2 separate regions of the Homo sapiens genome follow, and region 1 is linked to region 2. Evidence: promoter capture Hi-C in 16 types of primary human blood cells and fetal thymus (Javierre and others, 2016). All regions are on one chromosome and are shown on one strand. The core of a region is centred on a gene start or on the middle of the fragment in contact, and the rest is flanking DNA. Distances in the headings are between cores, read along the strand shown. Region 1 has its middle 94 kb from the start of DDIT4L-AS1. Region 2 holds the start of SLC9B1 (solute carrier family 9 member B1).

Region 1 (7,581 bases), core at 2,015-4,514, 2.9 Mb after region 2:
GGCAGGAGGATTGCTTAAGCCCAGGAGTTTAAGGCTGCAGTGAGCCAAGGTCATGCCACTACATATCAGCCTAGGTGACAGAGCGTGACTCTTTCTCTAAAAAAAACAAAAATAAACCAAAACAGGTGGAGTCCAAAGTCCAAGTCATTAGCTCTGAAGCTCAGGTAGCCCAGGAGATTCTGAAGCAGACTACAGTTTGAGAAACAACTATTATAAAAGTCAAAAAGGGAAGAAATAAACTAGCCTTTATCAAATGGCTATGCTTGATATTTAGAACACACACAACATGAGGGATGTAAATGAAATGCAACTTTACTTTCATTGCCCACTTTCCCTCTAAGATTTGTTTAATGAGAAAGGCTTTCCTCTGTTTCAAGTGTTGATTTTTCTCATTCCCAGGAAGCTTTCCCCACTGCACGTCTACCAATTTGTGAACACCAACTTGGGTTTTCCATACTCCTCAGACCCTAATGCATATTCAGATCACTTGGAGATCTTGTTAAAATGCAGATGATTCAATAGATCTGGGTGGGGCCTGAGTTTCAGCATTTCTAAGAAGCCCTAAAGTGATGCTCTTACTACTGGTCCTGGGACCACACTTTGAGCAGCAAGAGGGTCTGCTCATCTCCTCTGTCTTTGAACAGAGAGAGGAGATGAAAGAGTGTAAGAAATGTGTGACTTGGACTAGTATGATCATGAGTTGTCTTTGGGCCTTCTGGACCTGGCAGGTGTTTAAAGAAAACTATCTTGTGGGGGCTCTCCTGGGCTTTTCAGAGATTTGTATCATTGGGGCCCTCTGTCCTGCAGTTATTCTAACTAAGCTTGTGAGTCTCTCTTTTGGGTTATTATTTAATTTTCCTTCACCAACCCTTGAGAACCTCAGAACTTGGTTTCTTGCTGCTGGGGTCTCTTTGGCTCTCTGGATGCTCATACTGGTCACAACTAAAAACTTCTCTCTCTCTCTCAATGCCCATGGTCCATGAAAAACTCTAGCACTACCTTTTCTTTGATAAACCTTGGGAATGCAGGCTAATACCTCAGCAACAGAAACTCGCCTGGCTATGCCACCAAAGAAAGCAGTTAGCCAGTCCATCTCTGTCCACTCAACTCCCAGAGGCAGGGGGCACAGGCAGAGCTCTCTGAGTCATCCACTTGAAATCTCTTTTTCAAGTCTTGAAGTTAAGCTATAATCCCCATATATCCTCCCTTTCAGAGATTAGCAAAGAGATAGGGCTCAGAACACAGCTTTCTCCAAAGATTCCTGCTTCAATTAATTGCTATGTTATTTGGTGACAGATAAATGACGATGCTTTTTTTTTAAGCAAGGGGATAGCCAAATTGATTATCAGGTGATTATCTCTGATTGGGCCACAGGTTTAGCTTCAATAGTTTTGTAAATATTCTAGTTCTCACTTGGGGAGTTCACATAAGTCTTGTTTTATTATCATGCATTGTAACCTACATTTTTTTCTCTTTTAATCATTACATGATAAAAAGGAATTTTAAGTAGATAAGTAAGTAAGTTAACCAATATGTACAAACCAACCTAACACTTAATGATGCAAACAGTGATTAATTATTGCTTGGATTGTGTCTGCTCTGTGTGGTGCACTCAGCAGGTGGAGGGGCTGAGCATGTCTCCAGTTGTGGTGCTGGCTCTTAGCTGGGGCATTTTGGTTCTCCCTCACACGCCGTCTCTTTCTCCGTGATTTCCCATCTTCAAGAGCTTTTCCTCATGACCTTCCTCTTCAGCAGGATGGCCTAGATTTCCTTACGGCATCGAGGACGAGATCCAAGACAGCAAAAGCAGACTCTGCCAAGCCTCTTAATGGCAAGGCCCTGAAGCAGCAGAGCTTCACTTCTGCCACCTCCTATTGGTTAAAGCCTGTCACAAAGCCTGTCGAGATTCAGAAAAAGAGAGATAGAACCCACCTCCTGATAGAAAAAAGCTGCACATGCATAAAGAAAGGAGAGGATTTGACAGCTATCTTTGAAGAGTATCTGCCCCATTAAGCCATGGGATATTTTCCCCATAAAAGAAAGGACTATGATCTGGATTGTAGAAACTGATCTATAGACATGAATCTGAACTTAAGAGAATTTGACTAATTCCATCTGTTCAAACTGTCATCACTCACACATATTTCTGTAAGTATTCACTCTCACATGTTAGCATCAATAAAGATTTCATGAAAAATAAAGAGTCTTAATTCAGAGAGGATGAAACATGCAAAAACAGTTGTGCCATCAAATTATTTGTACCTAGCAAACTAAACATCCTCCAACAAAATAAATATTTGTAAGGAGGAATGCTTGACTACAAAACTATTTACAAATATGAAAATTAAACAAGAGTTAATTCTAACCGATGTCAACTTAAGAAAGTGAAAACGTCTTCTGCCCTGGCTTTTCCATTTTACTACCCTGTAACTATTAATGGAATCACTCTATCCCCATCAGGGAAGCTCAGATTCTCTAAAGGTAGTAATGATTCTTCCTTTCTTCCCCTTATCAATTATTCCTTCATTGTATGTCTCACATTCACCCCTCCTCTTCAGCTCCTTATCCACAATATAGCTCAGATTTTCACAGCATTAAAATAAAGGGACTATAGTTTCCTCCTATCTCTGAGTTCATGCCCACTCCGAGCCCAGTACACCTGAACAATGGTATTCCAAAAATACGTCTCATCTTCCCATGTTCCCACTCAAAAACTTCAGTGGCTCTTCACTCTCTCCACCGCCCTGGTCAGGGCTGGGAGGATGGTTTTCACATGCCATGAAGGGATTTTTTTTTTCTTTCTTTTCTTTTTTTTTTTTTTTTTTTCAAAAACTAGATGCCTCTCATTGGAACTTTTTACTAGATGGCTGCCTGTGCCTGCTCTTCTCCCCTCCCCACAAAACACACTCACATGCACTCAAGAAAAGAGGATAATAATCACTGGTCAGAGTGTATCACATCCCCAGGCGCTGGCCTAGGAAAAAAAAAAGTTTAAGAACTACTGGACTATAAAAGAATGTCCAAATTCCTTGTCAGGTACTTGAACTCATATCCAATCTATTTATCTTCTTTATATTTGTTTCCACCAAGCCTGACTGAAAACCTTTTACTACTAGAAACAGGATAAAATCAGTTAGGGAACTCGGTCCCCACTATTGCCAAGTTTACAGCATAATGGGAGAGAAAAACACAACATATTCAGAACATGAAGGTAGAAAGCCAAGGTGCCAAAGGCAGCGAGGGAATGCAGGCTCATGGTTCCAGAGCAAAAAGGAGAGCTCTGGCCTCCTCAGTCATCCTGGATTAAGAAGAAGAGTTTCTCTGCTTGGGTGTCATATAATAACTTCCTCTCTATGAAAATGTTGTACAAGCAACTGTTTATTCTCTTATTCCTAGTCTCACCTCATGCCAAACAAGGGTGTGGGCAAAACAGCAGGCTCAGGATCCAAGACAACATAACAATTTTCTGACAGATCCTGAAAACAAGTAAGATATATTCTGGTAGATTTTGCTAACCACCCAAAGTGTCTAAAGTGGGAAAGAAAACAAAATAAAACAAAAAAAAAGGAGAGACTGTGGGTATGTGTCATTCATTCATATTTTGTAAGTTGCCCTACTGTTTGTTTTGTCAGCTATTTTTAATAATAATAAGCAAAACAGAAAAACAGAGTCACAAATAGAAGATGCATATTTAGGGTCTCTAGCTAAGCAACAGGAGATGACAAAGTAAGAAACAAGGTCAGATTCTCCTGAAACCCAGAAAGGGTTGACTCATACAAGGGCCTCATTGTGTACCTCTCTGACTTCCACCAGAGGGAGCGTGTTCTGTGCGAGCGAGCACGTCTGCGTTTGCTAATTATCCTCACAGGACAGCGGGGACTGGAAGGTGGAAAGAACACAGGCAAAGCTGGCTTTGATCCTGGTTTCATCACTTTCTTGCAACATAAACCTCAGTTTCCTCAGTCAACTTTCTTTCCTCTGTGAAAATTAAAAGATAAAACTTTCCTTGCAGATAATTTGGTGAAAATTAAGAGATGATAAGCGTGAAGAGACTGGCTCACAGTGGACACTCAATAACTTGCAGCTACTATTAATATTACTTTTGTTAACCCTAAGCCAAGGCCACCACTCTTTAACCCATAACCATATGCCCCAGTGAAAAAGCACAGTGAGACCACCAGTGTTAGCAAATCTTCCCAACAACTCAAGAAACCATCAAAACTCATGAGCTGTAGGAGGGTAGGCAAATACTAACTTCTTTAAGTTTTTTCCTCATACACATCAGGATAATAACATCAAACTTCTAAGGATTCAAGAGAAATTATTTTAGATTTCAGTTCGGGTTAGAACCTGGCACATAAGAAGGCTCAATAAATGGTAAATGTTGTTATTACCATTCCTCTTTTTCAAATTTTAAAAGTGAGAATAGATTGACATTGTTCTTTTCAAGAGGCTGAATTTTCAGACATCTTCTCTACCAAATGATGTCACCCCCTGTCTCCCATGAGCACAGATGAAATTAAGACCCCACCTTTGAATGTTCCTTTTCAGATCTTCTTTTTCCTTTCCTTACTTTGTTTTCCTTTGAAAGTGGCCATTGATGTTTTTAAAAAGGGTTCTACTAGTTTATCCGTTGTATCTATTTTAAGGCACTGTTGGGTGGGGAGATGGTAACGTGAGCACAAATAAATTACATCATTATCATTTTCTCCTACGTTGACCATGGTTAAGGTTTTAGTCATGCGCAAGTGACTTAAAATTACATAATATGTATTTTGGCAATCCATCCTTGCTGTAGTTCAGCTCCCTGAATTTCAGAAGAAATGGGCCACTTAATAAGCCTCATCCAAGGGACTTCAGAGTCATTTCACCTTCATAAATCCTTGGAATTTCTACATGATAAAACTAGATTATGCAGAAGGTGTAATACATGAGGATGAGGCATATTTCCAGCAAATACGTAAGCACTGGGAGACTAATAATAGCCAAACACCTTACTCTACTAACAATTAGGAGGAATATAAGAAGAGGGTGCTTTGGTGTTTGAAGCGTCTAAGCCTTGGTTTCTTATTTTACACTTTCGTTTGGAGGGCAGATTGTTTTGAGTCAACATAAAGTGACTTCAGCTGAAGGGAGACTGGGATGTTCACAGTGGGCCTATAAACATTTTTAAAAACATCATTCAACGTTGATTCTGCCTTCACGGAGAGCCTACACTACACCAGGCACTGGGTTGGGCACTGTGACAGGGCTGATTCAAATAAACCCTTATGATATTTCCCTGTTGCTAAACTTCCAGAGTATTGACTGGCAATTTTTGGCCAACCTTCAAGCCTGATACATTCTTCTTTATTTGTCAATCTACCCTTTTGGTAATGTGGTAAAGAATCAAGTGTTTCTCTTCAGCAGCAATTCATCAGATAATTGCTCACTTTATTTAGTTGATGTGGACACAGCCAATCTATGTCATTCTGGTCAAAATAATACATTTGCCCTAACATTAGTGTTTTTTGTTTGTTTGTTTGTTTTTACTCTGAATTAAGCACATGAGGCCCTCAACAGAACCTGCATTAGACATAGCACCTGGTGGACAAAATATCCCTAATAAGCATTTGCTTGATTACATTCAGGCTTTAATTTTATTATCTAGAAAAGTGCTATTTCACCTTTATAGGTTTGGATTTGGTTATGTACTTTAAAAGCTTCAGGTAAAACAATGAGTAGATTCCTTTGTGAGAGCCCTCACAGTAAAACCAGAAGGCTGAAGGATACTGAGAGCATAGCCTGGATTGCGGATCCTAATTGACCAGTGCTGTGGTCTTACCTGGGTCATTTATCAGCTGTAAACAGTAGGCAAATTGTTTAATCTGAATGTCTCCTTCCTAATATTAGCATTTAGAACAATAATTCCAACTGGATGAGGTTATTTTTGAGATTTAATAATATAATAAATGTAAAGCCCATGGCATATATCAGACTTTTAATACATGTTTATTTCCTTTTTTCCCTCTCTCCTAGCAAAAATTTAACTTTGTCTTGAAGCTTGCCAAATAAGAAGGCCCCCAAAGTTGCTTGCTCTTGCAAGGATTACAGACTCTCATATTCACTCAAGTACTTAAGAAGTGTCAGGCACATTCCAAACTCCAAAGGAAATTAAATGCTGTTCCCCTGCCACCCACTCTGTCCCCCAGGGACCCCAAGCACATTAAAATAACATTAAGGCAATGATTTAAGCTGAAAATTGGGCTGCCAGGGAAAGCACCAGGCCCCAGTTCTCAGAAGCTTAGCTATACCTATGGGCACAACAGGGTGGCTCCCCTGGCTGGCTGACGTCAGAGCTTAAAGTTGTTTTTACCCCTGGCATTTGTGGGAAGGAAAGGGAGGGGTGAGGAGCGCGGGTGCCTCTTGTTCATTAAAAAAGCCTTCTGGGGACCCCTAGTGGCCACCAGCTATCATAGGTTTCTCTGCCAAAAGAAATCATGAGGCCTCAGGAAAACTACCTGGGGCTTCAATTGTATTTGTCTTCGTTCTCTCCTCAGTGATCCAAGTTTTTTCTCGGAAGTTAGTGGTTAAAAGGTAACCACTTTGTAACAGGCCTGTACAGCTCTCAAGTTTAGAAATTGGAGTTACGGGTGGCATAGACATCAAAATGATGGCATCAAATTGAAGGAGAGCTCTGAAATCCTCTTTTAATCCTCACCAGGAAAGCAGAAGGCAGAGCAAGCAGGCTGAAGACTGACAGAGAAGCATTTGCATGTCCTCCATGAGCCCTGATTTTCATGGGAACAGCTGTCTCAGTGACTGCATACAAGGTCCCACTTCTTAGATCTGTTCCCGGAGACGCAAGAGAAGAAGTAGAATAATAAGTCAAGGCTGTCCTGCTCATAAACAAATGTCAGACTCTTGTAGCTGGTGTGTTTCTGCTTCCTGAGTCTTTATTTCCCAAACCCCAGTGAACATAAGCAATAAAGCTATATCATGCTGGGGAATAAATAATAAATGATTCAGCCTCGACTCCAGGCATGTGTGGAGAATAGATATGGACCCAGCAAGGATTTATATACACAAAGCACCACGACACTCCTGGTGAGAAACTTTTCCTTTCGGGGAGAAACTGAGAAAACACAAGTTTGTTTCAAAGTGGAACAGGGGGTGATTTTGGAAACAACATAGTGTTAGTCATTCAGATTAATCTTCAATTCAGCCCTCCAAGCCTCAGTTCTTTCCTCGCAATGATGAGGCCCAAAGCTAACTCCTCTTTCGGCAATTAAAGAAGAGAGTGCAACACCACACTTAACATCCACTAACAGATGAGGTACCAGAAGCTTCAGCGTAGCCTAGAGACAGCACACTAGGCATAGCTATTAAGGACCCACCTTCAGAAATTTGCAATCTTGTGTTGTTAAATTAAATAAGCAGGAGACCATTGGCCTGGGACTGTCTCATATTTTGAGGTCCTACATAACAAACCACAACCTAATCTAGTACATAAACAAGCCAAAACCTAACTTAGGAGTATATTTTCTTCTTGCGAGTAGCCAAGTTTCAACCAATCACAAACAGCTGACCATCAAGCCAATC
Region 2 (6,788 bases), core at 2,159-4,658:
TCCACTTAGTCTATCTTAGTCAGCTTGGGCTGCTATAACAAAATACCATACACTGGGTGGCTTACACAACAGAAACTTACTTCTATTAAAGGTTGGAAGTTCGAGATCAGGATGCCAGCATTGTTGGGCTCTGGTGAAGTCTCTCTCCCTGGCTTGCCAATGGCCACATTCTCACCCTCTCACTCATGTGTCATCACTTGATGCCGAGAGAGAGCAAGCAAGCTCTCTGGTGTCTCTTCTTATAAGGGTACTCTAATCACAGCATGAGGGCCCTACCCTCATGACCTCATCCAAATCTAATTGCCTTCCCAAATCCTCATATCTAAATACATCACATTGGAAGTTAAGGCTTCAACATATGAATGTGTGGGGAAGGACATAATTCAGTCCCTGAAAGAAGTGTCATATTTCCAAGGACAGTATATTTCTGTCTGGTATTAACTCCCAATCACCTTGATTGATCTTGATGTCCTCAAAATTTCCTCAGGTAAACATTTGCAAATGATCTCATCCACTACATTCTTTAAAAATAGTATTTTTTTCTGATTATAAAGTAACACATTTTCATTGCAAAAAATTTAGAACACAGAAAAATACAAACAAGAAAACTGAAACTAATATAAACATGTATTTTATTTTTCTTTAAAATTGTACTGCAGTTTTGGGGGATGTATTATTTTCAGAAAGATATATCATCAACTGAATTTGTTGGGTGAAAGGCAACATAAGTATTTCATATTTGGCTTTTATGATGCTATGTAGATTGAAGAATTTTTTTGTATATAATGAATGCTAAGCCTTCATGTTTATATTCAGATATTCATTTTGCAATGAATAAAACAGACAAATCCCTGCCTTCATGGAGCTTGTTTTAAAATCCATTTACTCCCTCACTCAGAATATATTATAACATGCCTACTGTGTGCCAGGTCTTGTGCTAGATACTAGGGAATACAGTGATGAACAAGATATTCAAGGGCTTGGTTTTCAATAGAACTTGATTCTAGTGGAAAATTGACAATGTGAGGAATACAAATATGAATAAGACATGATACTTGCCTTTAAGAACCTTAGAAGGAAATAAGATATGTACAAATAGCTATAATCCAAGTGAATAATTCAAAAGTGTTTTTAGTGTAGAAGTTGAGGAAATCTTAGAGGAACTGATACTTGAACTAGACCTTCAAGAATGGAGAGGATCTGGATGGATGGGGTAATATTAGGGAGTAAGGTGAAGATGGGAACAACTAGTGTGGGAGGCTGGCATATTAGCAAAGTTTTGAAAACAGTAAAGCCTGGAGCATAGAAAGTGATTGGCACTTGAGATTGATGAAGAGAATTAGAGATAAGACTAGAAAAGAAAGTTGGCACTGAAATCATACTAAATAGATCATTGGCTAAATATTTTTATTGAAGTACTTTCAGAAGTATGAAACTATGTAGAAAGTGTTAAAACTTTTTTTATCATGTCATGTATAGTTTTAAAAAATTGCTCTCAGTTAAGATTCTCCTTATTCCTCAAAAGCTTTTGCTTTCCATGACTTTGTTGCAAATATAATCAATTTACTTATTTTTAAAACTTAATTTTTATAAGAAAGGTTATCAGATGATTGTTTAAATGTTTTTTATTAGTAAATTTTCATTATATTGTCTCCCAAAGAACCACTGTATTTTTTTAATGTCTCAGAACATTATATTTTTATATGAATCATTTATGTACCTCTCTGTAACAAGTGGGAATTGCTTCATGGCATTTGGGGAGTACGTAATATTATATTTATAGTTGACTGACTCAAATCCAGCCTGAGCCCTCTGGCCTGGTGAGAATTCCAAAACTCCATTTGTTGATGTGCGCTCCATCTTCCTTACATGGACCCTAAAGCACTTACCTCTCCAGGAGCCCATTCCTTCTAGAGCATAAGAGTAGTGCCTTGGAGGCAAACAGACTCCTAGCAAAGGTCTTCCTTCCCAGGTTTACCATTTGTCCCAACTCCCATTATCTTTAGGGATCTACCTGCTTTTCCTGTGAGTACAAAACATTTCCTTTTCATGAGTACAAAACATTTCCTTAACCCTATAATCATGAAACCCTGTCTACTCTCCTGAAACGAGGAAGAAAAATAAATCCTTGCTGAGATGTCTATAACACGTTGAAGGAGGGAAGGTGTTAAAAACAATAAAAAGGGCAGGGCTGTGGTGGCTCACGCTTGTAATCCCAGTACTGTGGGAAGCCAAGACGGGCAGATCACTTAAGTCCAGGAGTTCAAGTCCTCCTGGGCAATATGTGAAACTCCTCTCTACTAAAAATACAAAAATTAGCCGGGGGTAGTGGTGCCCACCTGTAGTCCCAGCTACTCAGGAGGCAGGAGGATCGCTTGAACCAAGGAGGAGGAGGCTGCAGGGAGCCTAGATCGCACTGCACTCCAGCCGGGGTAATAGAGTGAGACCCTGTCTCAACAACGTCAACAAAACCAATAAAAAGATAATTTCGTATTTAAGTTACCCAAGAAGGAACGGTAATTTGGATCAGATCTTAGATGATGACTAAGAAAAAGAACACTCCGGTAGAGGAATTAACTTTACAGAACGCACTGAGGCAAAAAGGAATACAGTGTTCAAGAGTAAACATTGAGTGTCAGGAGAAACATTAGATAGGAAAGGGCAGTTTGTCTTTCTAAGAAGTTTACACTTTCTCCAATAACAGTTGTTTTTGTCTTTTATAGGAAGCGCGGATTCTATTACTGGAAACTTTGGGACTGAAAGGCCAAAGCTTCTGGGCCCACCATCAACGCAGCTCCGCTTTCATTTCTTTCACATACAACTTTCCACATAAGATTTCATGCGGAAAAAAAAAAAAAACTCACAAAGGTTTTATACTGATAACAGTATATTAAGTGTTTACTTTGTACACAGCGTCTTTGTTCCAGACACTTGCCATGTCTCATTTATTCTCACACCACCACCACAGCGTCCTTTACAGATGAGAAGACAACCTCAGGGAGACGATGTATTTGCCTAGGTCCCATAGCTAGCAAGTGACAGCGCTGCAGTTTAAGCTCAGGCCGTCTTGGGGAGAGACCGTGCTCTTCTACCATTGCACTTTAAGCTGACTTTAGGGGAAACACAATCTGAGTTTTGACAAGTTTACTTCTGGCACATGCAGTCCCGAGCACTGCTTTTTGGCTAAAATGCCCAGTGATGTCAACTCTGTCCCTGGATTTCTACAACCCGATGAGTCAATATTCAGAAGAGACGTCGAAAGGAAAGGGTTCAATAGACAGAAAACACACCAGACAGTCCCAGAAACCCCAGAACCCTCGCCTCTGCCGGCGCGGACAGCCAAGACGTCACTTAAACGCGCTGCCGCCTCCTCGCCCCGCCCCGCCCCTGCGCGGAAGTCTATCCGGGCTTTCGCGTCACCACCCTGCCCACCTGGGTGGCGCGTGGCTTACGCAACGGTCACTGGGCTCCTGGGCCGCTCCCGGGCCAGCGAGGGCTGCGAAAGAAGTTGTAGGTACGGCCCATTTTTCTTAACGCCGCCCTTCCAAGCCCTTTGGCGCTAGTCCCGGGTCTGCCGCGATCGTTTCCTTGCGGTAGGCCGCAGGAGGGCCTTTCCTCCCCCTCAGTTCAATGGGATTCTTGGGCTCTTCTCCCAGACGCTGAGGGAACAGCCACAGACATTGTCTCTCCTCTCCGTGACTCCTTTCCTTACTCCGTCATCCCACATCTCTCTTGTTTGTTCTCTTTTCCTCCTGTTTTTCTTATTTTACAAATACTCGCCAGTAAGAAAGAAGAGATCTGTCAGTTAAGATTGACCTCAAAATTAATTTTATTAAGCGTGTACTATTTTACAAACGGTGGATCCCTGCAAATAAACCTTCACATACATGCTCCTGCGACTGGAGATTCTGGGATTGGTTGCCGATCCTGAGAAAGCTCTCTTCCCCCACCCACCCACATCCACGCCCCTTAATCCTGTTTACTCCTCTTGGCTTTAACCCAGGGGACAAGCACTTCCAGCAGTCCCCAACCTTTTTGGCACCAGGGATCAGTTTCATGGAAGACAGTTTGGGGTGGGGGGCAAGATGGGATGACACTCTTCTATCTCAGATCATCAGGCATTAGATTCTCTTGAGAAGGCGCAATTTAGATCCCTCACATGCGCAGTTCATAATCAGGTCTGTGCTCCTATGAGAATCTAATGCCTTTGCTCATCTGACAGGAGCTGGAGCTCAGGCATAATCCTCTAGCCCTGCTCACCTGCTGTGTGGCCTGTTCCTAATAGGCCACAAACCTGTACCTGTCTGCTGCCCAGGGGTTGGGGATCCCTGCTTTAGACCAGTGCTTTTGAAGGAAAAAGGAAAGTTGCACACATACTGTGTCTGTCACATCAATCAGTAGTGTTACAAGAGCTCTTCACGGGACCATACCAGGTCCCTCACTCCCCCTCTATGGGTGTCCTAGAGCCTGTGAAATAACAGATTTGGTGATGTGGGGAGACAACTGGCCCAGGTGGCACTGAGGGAGGCCACACCCCACTCTCTGATTTTCCTTAGAGATAAATATAATTATGTGTGCAACAGAAGCATGAAAAATGACACTTATTATTGTCACCCCTAGAGAATTCATGCCCCAAATATTTTAGTCACTGTGTGCCTATGAAAAGGGCATTCATAGGTATTGTCCCCTGTGAGTACCAGAATTTTTTTTAACTTACTTTTTAAAATTCTATACAGATTTAGTTAGTACAAGTTCAGTTTTGTTGTGTGGATATATTGCACAGTGGTGAAGTCTGGGCTTTTAGAGTACCAGAATTTATACTGCTGTTTTTCAGTTGGCTCTTGTCATAAGGTCCTGCCAATTACTAGACACAAGGAAATAGGTGGGTGCTATAGTTGTAACATATAAAGTATCGTTTTTATAGTACTTCTCATTTTGTACTTATTTTTGTACTCATCCTGTTTAAACACTTCTGTTGGTTAACCAAATCCCATGTTACTGTGGTGTTTACTAAACACTGAGATTGAATAGTACCTGGAACATAGTGTAATATATGTTCAATAAATATTTTTTGAGGGAATGAATGGATGAGCTTCTGAAGAAGCCATACCTTAGCCACTTTTGTTTTTCCTGGATCCAGAGCTTAGTCTAGCAGTAGTAAACTCACCAGTGTGAGTTAAGTAGAGAAGTCAAGTGACTTGCTTAGGGAAAGGCATTCATTAAGTATTTTTTAAAGAATATCCTACTTTGTCAGGCGTTGTTTTAGGCATTGTGAATACAATGGTAAGAAAGACTAGCAAGATCGCTGTTCTTATGAAGTTTAAATTCTAGTGAGTGTAAGATAGAAAATAGGTAAACTATATGAGCAAGGAATTTTGGATAATAGTAAGCACAGTGAAGAAGTAAAACTGTAAAGGTCTTCCTTAAGACTGGGGGAGGGGTTAGTTTAGATTGATTGCTTAGTGATATTTTTAAAAACCAACCATGGAAATATTTGGGATCAGCGCACTACAGGTAAAGGCAACTCCAATTGCAAGAGCCCTAAGGAAGGAAAGAACTTGGCTCCTTCCAGGAACATCATCAAGACCACTGAAGCTAAAATGTAGAGAAAGTGGTACAGGATGAGCTTGGAGGGATAGGTAGGGGCCAAATCATGTAAGGCTTTGAATAGGCCATGGAAATCTACCCATGGAATAAGTTTGGAATTTATTTAAAGTGTAAAGAGAAACCAGTAGTGAGTTGGAGGGAGTGATAGGATCTGATTTACATTGTAAAAAGGTTTGTTCTGCCTATTATGTGATGACTGAATCATACTGGGTGGGGAGCAAGATCTATAGCAGAAGATAATTGCAGAAATCCAAAGAGGAATGACAAGTTTGGGATAAAATAGCAGAGAAGTAGATGTATGTGAGCTCTATTTTGGGGGCAGAGCCTACAGATTTTGTGATGTTTTGAATATAGAGGTGATGAAAAAGGAGTCACCTCTAGCCCCTAAATTTTTGTCTTGAGCTTGTGTGGATGATTGTGCCATTTACCAAATGGAAAAGACTAAGGAAGAAAAAGGAGCAGCCAGGGCGGTGGGAGGGGGGAGTTTTATTTTGCTTACCTTAATTTTTACATTCTTATTAGAAATCAAAGGTAATTTGAGGCTTCAGCTCTGTGCAGAGTGCAAGGAACCAAAGATGCAAAGTTGGGAGTCACCAGCATATGGAAAACTACCTAGGGCAAGTGTGCTCACCGATAACATTGCAGTGACTAGTGTAAAGCAGAGGAAAAGAAGCCAACAAAAGAGATGGAAGAATAGCCAATGAAGTAGGAAGAAAATCTGAAGAGTGCAGTGACATAAAAGCCGAGACTGGCCGGGCATGGTGGCTCATGCCTGTAATCCCAGTACTTTGGGAGGCTAAGGTGGGTGGATCACCTGAGGACGGGAGTTCCAGACCAGCCTGACCAACATGGAGAAACCCCATCTCAATTAAAAAAAAAAAAAAAAAAAGCCAAGACTACAAAACATGGCCAACAGTACTGAATCATGCTTAGAAGTCAAATAAAATAAAGAGATCTGTGCATTGGGTTTTGGAAACATTAAGTAGTTATATGCCTTGACTAGTACAATAAAGAGAAAATGTGGTGTCAAGAAATTGACATAGTACTGCTGGCTGGGCAGAAATTGACGTAGTACTATAGACATCTCAAGATGTTTTACTATGAAAGAGAGCCAAGAAATGGAGGTAATAGAGAAATATGTATGGTCAAAGAAGGGTTCTTAAAGATAAGGACACTTAAGC

What was found. The method cuts DNA at HindIII sites, captures the fragments that hold promoters and counts their contacts. A CHiCAGO score of 5 or more calls a contact.
Region 1: a fragment that was not itself captured here is called in contact with the fragment with the promoter of SLC9B1 in region 2 in 1 of 17 cell types (naive CD8 T cells); the score reaches 5.5 in naive CD8 T cells.

The regions. Positions count from the first base shown.
Region 1 is chr4:100,092,436-100,100,016 of GRCh38, reverse strand. No RefSeq gene overlaps it. Among named protein-coding and RNA genes, the nearest start is that of DDIT4L-AS1, 94 kb to the left of the region's middle. The HindIII fragment of the contact is 4,881 bases long and covers 824-5,704 here.
Region 2 is chr4:103,016,325-103,023,112 of GRCh38, reverse strand. It overlaps SLC9B1 (solute carrier family 9 member B1), which reads left to right and starts at 3,408. Exons shown (of 12, transcript NM_139173.4): 1 at 3,408-3,514. It overlaps SLC9B2 (solute carrier family 9 member B2), which reads left to right. Exons shown (of 12, transcript NM_178833.7): 12 at 1-860. RefSeq lists an enhancer at 3,067-3,567. The HindIII fragment of the contact is 6,332 bases long and covers 2,773-6,788 here.